Linked DNA regions of Homo sapiens: region 2 is linked to region 1. Evidence: promoter capture Hi-C in 16 types of primary human blood cells and fetal thymus (Javierre and others, 2016). All regions are on one chromosome and are shown on one strand. Each heading gives the region's core, a stretch centred on a gene start or on the middle of the fragment in contact. The rest is flanking DNA. Distances are from core to core; before and after follow the strand shown.

The links. Contacts are between HindIII fragments. The CHiCAGO score rates a contact against its expected background, and 5 or more counts as called.
Region 2: a contact is called between a fragment that was not itself captured here and the fragment with the promoter of ISM1 in region 1, in 1 of 17 cell types (naive CD4 T cells). The highest score is 5.1, in naive CD4 T cells.

The regions. Positions count from the first base shown.
Region 1 is chr20:13,218,750-13,223,924 of GRCh38, forward strand. It overlaps ISM1 (isthmin 1), which reads left to right and starts at 2,525. Exons shown (of 6, transcript NM_080826.2): 1 at 2,525-3,165. The coding sequence starts at 3,028. It also overlaps a transcript of TASP1 not described here. RefSeq lists silencers at 2,308-2,427, 2,887-2,956. The HindIII fragment of the contact is 8,964 bases long and covers 1-4,854 here.
Region 2 is chr20:13,170,333-13,175,326 of GRCh38, forward strand. It overlaps a transcript of TASP1 not described here. Among named protein-coding and RNA genes, the nearest start is that of ISM1, 48 kb to the right of the region's middle. RefSeq lists an enhancer at 4,340-4,389. The HindIII fragment of the contact is 2,071 bases long and covers 930-3,000 here.

The DNA of each region.
Region 1 (5,175 bases), core at 1,275-3,774:
CAAGCCTGGTTCGGCAACTGGAATCAGAGCGTGGGTGTTTATCAATACTCGTTATATGTGCTTACTGGAACATAAATTCACCTGGAATGGGGATCTCTCAGCGTGAAGGGATTTTAATAGGATTCATTCATACATTTGTTCAACATTTTATAAAGACATCTGTCCCCAAAATTCAATTTACAATTTTTACAACATTTTACAAAGACTTTGATCTCCAAATCTCCATTTACAAATTATTTTACAAGAATTTACATTCATTGCAAAGGTTTCTTTCCAGAGTTTTTTAAAGGTCATTTTTGCCTTGGGTCCAAAACTGTTACTTTTAGATGAGAGGAGAAGCAGCTGAGGTTTACATGTGGAGACTGTGTGTGATGAAAGGGCAGGACACAGCGGCCCCTGGATCCTAATTCAGACCAGCCTGCCTCTGGCAATAGGAAAGTCATTTGTTCCTGCGAGCCCGTATCATAATCTGGCACAACTGGAGGTTAGAACAATCCTTAAAACTCTTTGGCTGTGGGATTCTAGTTTGCCATCTTAATTTATACATTCTATTTCGGCGCTGATTCTCCAGCCCTTTCCCTTTTAAGTGATCCTAATTAGAAAACACACAGGAGGATCCTTCCAGGATTTAAAAGCTGCTGGGATCCCCTCTTTGATCTCCCATCTGAAATACGGACGGTTATTGTTTCGCGTTTCCCCCCACTCCCCCCGACCCGCACTCCAGTGACAATTATTGGCATTTTAGAGCCTAGAGATAGAAATAAGATGTCTGACAGGCCCGGCTGCCTAAAAATCCAAAGCAAGCACCCCTCCAAACATCTCCCCTCCTCCCTCGCACCGTTCCCCACCCAAAAAAAAATAATGAAAAGGAAAAAATATAGCAGACTCTATAAACAGCTGCCAATTTATTAATAAGATGCTGGAGTTAGTTAGAATTTTAAAGATGCTTCAGGCATCTTTAAGGAGGCAGCAAGCCCTTCCTCTCCCGGGCACAAATAAGCCCAACCAGCAGACCCTACCTTAACTACCGCTATTTAAATTCTGCAAAGTACCGCGGTGACCGGAGGAACCTTCGCAAAGGCGCAAGGGTTTGCCTTAATTTGGTTAATACTTGGTTGAGATGCCTTGCGAGAACTCGAAAGCAGTTGAATTAAGAATCTTAAATCTTTCTAGGACGCGGAGAAGGAAGGTAGGAAATTGGGGAGGGGGAAAGGGAGGCGTGCCGTCAAGAAAGAGTTGATTATTTATTTAATTTCATTCACCAAGGGAGAATTCGGAGGCTCCATCCCGGAGGCACTGGGGTCCGGGACGCGGGAAAGGCTTGGAAATGTGCGACGCGGCTGTGTGCGAACGCGTGGACTAGGTCTTGGCTCGCTGGGAGGGAAGGGCTGGGCCGGCGCTGGGGAGGAGGAAGGGAGGGAACGGGTAGGAGGAGGGGAAGCGCAGTATAAAAGTCCCGGCCGGACTGAGCGTCCGCTACTCCGAGTCACTTCGGTAAGGCGGGAGCCCGAGCAAGGTCAAGGAGGGAAGTGCGCGGTGCCACGGACCGACACAGTTCGCTCTAGCATCTGACGCTCGGACTCCGCGCCCTCAGCCGGATCCCAGAGCCCTTCCATTCGCCAACCGCCCACTGCAAGGCATGAGCCGCACGCGGGAGCCCGAGGCTGCAGCGCGGTCATGAGGCGGTGGCCCGGGATCGACAGCTGCGCGACGCCAGCCCCCAAATCCCCTCTGGGCGCGGCACCCCCGGGATGAGCCCCCCACAGAGGCAAGCCCACTAGAGCTGAGATTCACTCCGAGTTCCTGAGCGCCTGAGCCGCGGGCACTGCGTCTCTGCAGCTTCCAGCCAACACCTGCGCCCGTGACCAGACGAACGCCTAGAGAGTCGGACTCCCCTCCCTTCCCAGGCTCTACGGGGCGCCGCGGATCCGCGAACAGCCGTGCCCGGCTAGCGGGCGGCCCAGCAAGTGTCAAGACCCTTCGGAACGACACTTTGGCACTCCTCCTCTCCCCCGACTGCTTCAGGCAGGGGTCGCAGGCAGACGCATGGCTTGTCCGGCGCCCCCTCCGTTTTCCATCACTGCAACTCCAGCTCCAGTTTGCCAATAAAGGTTTCTAAAGCAGCCCAGGCACCACCCCACCCACCCACAGCCCCGAGCCTCAGTGTGCACAAGGGCTCTACCCGCGCCCGTCACAGCGACCTCGGCAGCGGGCACTTGGTACAGCCCGGCAGGCTGACGCTGCCGCCGAGGGCGCCCCGGCTACCGCCAAACCGTGACAACCTCGGTGTGCCCGGGGCCCCCATCTGGAACCGGCCCTCCCCGGGACTCCGAGTGCGGGGCGGCGCGGCAGGCGGCCCCGAGGAGCGCGGAGAGTAGTGGAGGTGGCTTGCCGGGTGAGTGGCTCGGGGCGGCGAGGGCGGGGGCGCCAAGCGTGGAGGTAACTCCCGGCCGCAGCTGAAGCCCTCCTACTCCTCCTCCTCCTCCTCCTCCTCCTCCTCCTCCTCCTCCTCCTTCTCCTTCTCCTCCTCCTCCTCCCCGCGCTTCTCTGGCGGCCGCTCCCGCTCCAGCTGCGGCGCCGCGGCCACATCTGGGGCGCCCATGTGCGCTCGGGGGCTCGGCTGCGCCCGCCCCGCCGCCGACCCCGCAGCCCCCTGCCAGCAGGGTGGCCTCCGGCCCGGCCCGGGTCCCGGGCTGTCCCGGGACCCAGTCTCCGTCTCCGCCGCCGCCGCCGCCAGGCAGCGCCGGGGCTTGCTCCGCAGCCGGCTTGGACACCCCCGGCCTCGCGGTGGCTCCGCCGTGGTGCGGCGGCGGCGGCGGCGGCGGCGCCGGCAGCTCCTGCTCCCCCGGCCCCGCACACCCCGCCGCGCCCAGCGCCAGCCCCGCGGGCCCGGGAAGCGGAGCCCTGGCGGGAGCCGAGGCGGGAGCCGCGCTGCCGGGCTCCCGGGCTCCTACTCCTCCTCCCCCGGCGTCACCGCCGCCGCCGCCGGCCGCCGCGCCGGGTCCTAAAGCCGCGCGTCTCAAAAGGATGGTGCGCCTGGCGGCCGAGCTGCTGCTGCTGCTGGGGCTGCTGCTGCTCACGCTGCACATCACCGTGCTGCGCGGCTCGGGAGCCGCCGACGGGCCCGACGCGGCCGCGGGCAACGCCAGCCAAGCCCAGCTGCAGGTGAGTGCGCCGCCGGAGAGGGCCGTGCGCGGCTGCGGGGACGGTTTGTGGGGCGGGGGTGCTGAGCTAGTGCCGGGTGGATGCAGGGAGGCAGGTCCCCTGCCCCACCTAAGAGCAACTGTTTTGGCAGTAGTTTTGCCCGGGCCACTTGACTTAGGCAGAGGCGGAGCGGGGGCACGTGCCTGGAGGCTGCACCCGGCTTCCAGGTCTGCGGGCTGCGCTCCTTCAGTTCTGTCTGTCACGGGTCAGGTGCGGGGTTGGTGGGGAGGTGGGAAGGAGCGAGGTTTGGGATGAGCAGAGGAAGTGTGGAGAATGTGCTTGCTTGGGGGTGCTACCAGTCTTTCGTTGCCCTTCGGAGGCTGAGTAATGTTACTCGAGGCTGGAGGGACGCAAGGAGACTTTATAGGATGATATCCCTGAAGTCTTTGGGAGAAAGAACTCCGGGAGTCTACCCCTTTAGGAAGCAATGCCAAAGGTCAGGACATAATTTCCCAAGGAGAATAGCCAGGCATCCCCTCCTCACCCTCAGGGTTCCCTTGCTTCCAGTGTTCCTCTTCCTCCGGGAGCCTCGCCTGAGGTTCCCCCCTCCCCCCTTGTGCCCCCTTGGTCATGGGGAAGGTGCAGAGTGAAGGCACCGGTAGTGATTTGGGCCAGGGTTACCTGGGGCTTTTAAACTTGTAGCAAAGTCTTTCTCCCAAGGATCTTCCCCGTTGAAGGTCGCTTTAGCAATGGGATTCTGTTTATCCATTTCAACTTCAGGGCAAGGAGAGGGCGTAGTGGACGGTCAGACATAATGTGAGTTCTGACTTAGGAATAGAATTGCCCAGCTAGGCATTTCCTGCCGCTATGTTAGCGCCTTTCCTTGAGTCTAGGGGTGGGACAACTGTAAACTTGGAGCATAGGCAAAAGCAAGCAGGGATTTTCCCAGGAGGCAGAGGGGATTCTCTGGCTCCTAAAATCTGCTCAAACCAGGCGCGGTGGCTCACGCCTGTGATCCCAGCACTTTAGCAGGCAGAGGCGGGTGGATCACCTCAGGCCAGGTGTTGGAGACTATCCTGGCCGACATGGTGAAACCCCGTCTCTACTAAAAATACAAAAATTAGCTGGGCGTGGTGGCGCACGCCTGTAGTCCCAGTTACTCGGGAGGCTGAGGCAGGAGAATTGCTTGAACCCGGGAGGTTGTAGTGAGCTGAGATCGCGCCACTGCACTCCAGCCTGGGCGACAGAGCGAGACTCCGTCTCAAAAAAAAAATAAAATAAAATAAAATAAAATAAAATAAATAAATAAATAAATAAAATGAAATAAGCATTATTCATTGTTCCCAAAGGCCTTTATATTCATTGTCTTTGATAATTCACTTTTTACATCTTTATACAATTTATTGCGAAAAACTTTACCGTAAAGAGAAAACTAATAAAACACTTCCATTGTGTTTACTACGTGCCACCGTTTTAAGTACTTTACAGAATTTAACTCACTTAATTTAACCATAATCTTACAAGACATGGTACTGTTAATATAGCCTCATTTACAGATGCAAAAACTGAGGTACAGAGAGGTTAAAAAACTTGTCAAAGTTCAGACATTCCAAACTCTTGATTACACCAAATTTTGTCTCTACCAGGATAGACTAAAGCAAGGTGATTATTGCACGCAATTACAAAACAGTAGAAAAGTACACACCCCAAAGCTTAAAGTTGTTTTAACTTTGAGACATTTCTAAAAATGTCCTAACTTTGTGGGTTCTCTCACCTTCTCCCGTGGGTAGATAAGTACAGTGACAGACTGAGGGAATTTCTATGCGGAAGTTGAAGATGCCACCATCCTATAGACTGGGGCACCCACCAATCTAACACTGCGGAGATAATTCTTAATATCTTCAAGATTTCTGGAAGTTATATTTTATACATGATGCTTTCTTTCCTCATGGACTCATGAAAAGCCATAAAAATGATGTTCTGTGGAAAAGTAAATTTGGCAGATTACTTTATGAGGTGTTTGCTATCATT
Region 2 (4,994 bases), core at 715-3,214, 49 kb before region 1:
ACGTTATATATTAGCAGGAGTAATTCAATCAAGAATAAGGGAACAAGTGAAACCAGTTTCATTTGGAAAAGGTTGATTCCCATGCCAATCTGGGTTTAATGTAGGGACTGGTTATTCTAATTTTCATTGCATCCTGTGGTCCAAATGGGAGGCTGAATTCTGACATTTGCAAGTCAACTGCTCTGAGAAGTTATCACAGATACAAACCAATAAAATATCCAACAACAGAAGTTCAGAATAGGAGCAAAAGGAGACTTTGTTTTGCTGTGGCATATAACAGCGCTCCCTTTTATTCAGCCCAGCTGCTAATTTTTATATCAAAAGTATTGATTGAAGGGGCTAGTGGTTTTGGCCCTCACCCAAGTTTATTCAAGATCTTTCTTAATTAGGTTTGGGTCGGCTGCAGTGCCCATGGCCAGGGATAGGTCTGGCTCCAATCATCACATCGTGCTCTTACTTCATTATGGGCCAAGAACTAAGGCAAGGAAATGGCTGCTGCTTTGTTTCTCCAGCCCAAATGTGTGGGGTTTTTTCCCAGATCTGAAGCATGCGTGGACTAAAGGCATAAGGAAGACCAAAGGATGTGTAATGGCTTCGCTGTGATGAAATCAATCTACCCTACAACTTAACTATGACCCCAGCATGAATAAGGCTCTGTGTGTGAAAAGTGAATGGGTAGCAATGTGGGGTCATGGAAAATGCTCCTGGCATCATTTGAATAAAAACTTTTCAACAGGCTGATGCAGCCAATCAGTCTATCAGTTTTTTTGCCCTTTTAAGGGCAAAATAATCTCTGCCAACAATACATGATTTCCCCTTAATGTGTCTGTTTTGTAAATAATTGTGGTTGTCATACAACTATTTTTATAGTGTCCATCTCAATTTTATATAATTTACACCAGTCTTTTAAAAAAACGTTATACATGTAAAGCTTCAATTAATCATAGCCACAAATTATAAGCACCTGTAACAAAATAGGTTTCTTTCATATATAAAAATGTGTTAATATTTTAAAATGAAATTCAGTTCCCTCTAAAATATTTTCAACAAAATATCCATGAAGAGTTTTTAACTCTAAAAAAATTATCAAATAAAACTTCAAAATATAGATTTTTAAGCGATGTATTAATGAGACAATTCTAAGTGGGACCAATCAAAGTTAAAGATTTCCTATATAGATGAGGCTATAACTGCTATATACAGTCAATGTAACAGGTACATAATATAGAAAAATGAAAATATTTTATTAAAGTGGGTCCATTTCTAGTAAGATGAAAACTAACATTTTCAAAAGTTACACTGATTATTTGAGCATCTATTGTTTCTAATAGCGAATTAGAGAGGAAGTATGACTGGTATTGACATCAGTCAACATGGCTCTCGATTGTGAATAGAAATAGAAAGCCAGAGATTACCAGTTATTTGATGAAAACCAGCAATACCAAAGTGGGTAGCCAAGGAGAAAAAAATGAGAAATATCTTACTGACTGAAACAGACAATTCCTGGAAAAGTTAACTTTTTAAAAGTTCTAATTATGATCTTTGTAGGTCAACCTGATTGTATAAAGAAATTACATCCACAAAACAAGAATAGGCTGATATGTAAAGGAACCCAGAGTTTATAAAAATTAAAAATATGTAATATTAAAGTGGTGAAAATCAATAGAAAGCAAAGAAGAAAAAATCTTTGAATCTCAGAATATAAAGCAAAGGCCAGAAAAAAATAGAAAACATGAGAAAAAATGTAAAACGACAAAGAGGATACATACAGGAGGAACAATATCCATCTAATAAAAACTTGAGAAAGCATTATAATCCCTGAGGCTGAAACAAAATGGAAGATGAAAATGGACTAGCAAGTGCTAAGCGGATGAATATAAAAAGATTTTTATCTAAATACACCTTCATAAAATTTTTACTATCCCAAGGATAAAGGGAAGAACTTAAAATTGTTTTCAGCTAGAAAAAAAATTTTCACCTAAAAAGGTAAAAGTAATTGCTTTTACTACTGAATATTATAAACATGGAAAGTTCATACCAATTTTCACATCTGTTAACAGTGTATAAGTTATCCATTTCTCCAATCTGCACCAATACTATTATTATTTTTATAACATTTGTCAATCTTATAGGATAAAAAGGGGTTCTCTTTCATAAATGATGTCCATTTATAGTGATTTCTTTTCATATATATATACTGGCTGCTTGTATTTGTCTTTTGCACATTTGTTTGAATCCCCTGCTACTATTTCTATTGTAAATACCTCATCAGCAATACCAGATACTAGAAGACAACAAAGCACTGCCTTCAGAATTCATAGGGAAAATACTTTTGAATCTAAAATCCTATGTCCAGAAAAGTCTGTCTAATAAAGGGAGAGTAAAACGGGGATTTTTTTAAATGAAAGATTCAGAAAGTTTACTTCAGTACCCTTCCTTTAAAAAATTACTTGATGAATACTTCAATAAACACTTCCAAGTAAAAGAAAGACATAGTATCCAGGAAAGAGTGAAATTAATATAATAGTATAATGAAAAGAAATTTTGGAATGATAATTAAGGTAGATTAAATCAAAAGGTGATGGGTAATTTTTTGCTCAAGTCCCACTGGGTGTCCCTGGTTGCCAAGCAATCTCCTCCACATGGTGTTTCAGGGACCCAGGCTATTTCCAGCCTGTGGCTCCACCAACCCCTAGGACTTTGCCATTGCATGTGTGGTTATGGCTCCAGGTTTCAGCCTGGGGAAAAGAAAAAGTGATCATGGAAGAGGGCTCCCTTTACCCTGTATGATGATTGACTTAACTCTGACTCTTTAGACACATTGAGAGTGCTGGCAAGCCCTATTTCCAAGATCTCAGGGGAGCATCCAGAGATCTATAAAAAGCAGAATTGCTGCAGAGAATGCCCTAATATCTTAGTTCCTAGAGATGTAACCCTCCTATCCCAAAGCTGCTCCAACACCAACTTCATTTACTCACATCAGACAGATGAAATCTTATAAGCTTCATCCATTCTCCAGCTACAGAACCCAGAGTCATGACCACACAGCCAGTTGGTCAGCAGGTTAGACCAGTTACTTCTTGCGTCATGTCTCATTCTTATCAAGTATGGATGCACTCACCTAGTTCCTCAGGAAAGATATGCTTACTTCTGTTCACAGTGTACAAGGTGGCTGTAAGATGTGAATGCTCTCAGCAAAGGCACCTTTGAAATGGATGGGCTAGGCTGGAGGAGGGGGCGTTACAGCAGTGGTTGTCCATCTGCTGTCCTGGCCACAAGAACCATGGGCATGCTAAGTCTGGCCCATATGCTCCTCAGGATATGAAAACAGAGGTGATAGGTTTCTCACCTCTGTGATCTTTGCTCTGCCTCTCACATTGTCACACCTCACTTCAAGACCCTCCTGGGTTTCATTAGTGATGGTGAAAGTGAGCCAACTGGGGATTGGTGTAGGTTTGTTTGGAATTGCCTCTTTTAAAATTTCACTTTCACAGGGTAATAGCCTGGAGTCAACTCTTTGGTGAAATGCTGGAAAAGAAAAAATATGGTGCACTTTATGGCTTGTTTATCCATCTGCACCTTCCCTGATGCATGTTCCTGGAGTCTCTGCCTTCCTGGGTTGTGACCTTTCAGAATTTTGTAGCTTGTTCAAAGCTATTCTTCTGTGACAGTTTAAGGACTAGAAGAGAGAGCCACTAAAAATAACAGTGTGCACAACAATTCATTCCTGCCCCATCCCCAGTGCCGTTCTTCATTTCCACGTCCAGCCTTCAATGTGTATATATGTGAATGATGTGAAAATGAAATTTACATATGGTAGGTTCTCACCTTGTAGAAGTACGAATTTACAGGTCTGATTTTAGAAAATTATTGTTCATCACATCCCATGGGCATGTTCAGGTCTTTTAAATTTATACTTCTGAAGTTCATGATTAAATAGATGTTATACATTAAAGAAGAAAAGTTCAAAATGAGAGAGAGGCAACTTGAACATACATTTAGTTAACCAAAGCTTAAAAAATAATTTGAAAATTGTCTTAGGCTCATTATAATGATCTTGAATTATACTCTTAAGATATTCCAGGCAGGGTGTGGTGGCGCATGCCTGTAATTCCAGCACTTTGGGAGGCTGAGGTGGATAGATCGCTTGAGCCCAGGAGTTCAAGACCAGCCTGGGCAACGTGGTAAAACCCCATATCTACAAAAAATTTAAAAAATTAGCCAGGCATAGTGGCATGCGCCTCTAGTTTCAGTTCCTCAGAAGACTGAGGCGGTAGAATCACTTGAGCCTGGGAAGTCGAAGCTGCAGTGAGCCGTAATGCAGCCACTGTACTCCAGCCTGGGTGACAGAGTGAAACCTTGTCACGAAAAAAAAAAAAAAGAGATATTCCATAGAAGATGAACTTCTTTCATTACGTCTCAAATTTTCATCTACAAGATGCATTAAAAATGTACAGGTCTCTTTGATATGGTTTGGCTGTGTCCCTACCCAAATATCACCTTAAACTGTAATAATCCCCACATGTCATGGGCAGGGTCAGGTGGAGATAATTGAATCATGGGGGCAGTACCCCCATATGGTTCTCATAGTAGTGAATAAGTCTCACGAGATCTAATGGTTTTATAAATGCAAATTCCCCTGCATAAGCTGTCTTGCCTGCCGCCGTGTAATATGTGACTTTGCTCTTCATTCGCTTTCTGCCATGATTATAAGGCCTCCCCAGTCATGTGGAACTGTGAGTCAATTATACTCTTTCCTTTATAAATTACCCAGTCTCAGGTATGTCTTTATTAGAAGTGTGAGAACAGACTAATACACTCCTAAACTTGCAATTCTACCTCTGAGAATTTACACTAGAGAAATACTTAAGAACTTTAGTTTCTGGAAACATGATGATCTCACCAGAAATCCTCTCATTGCAAAGTGGAAATACTGGATAAAATGTAAGATTCTTTAAATGTAGGACTGAGCCCACAAGAAAGGAAAATCCCCA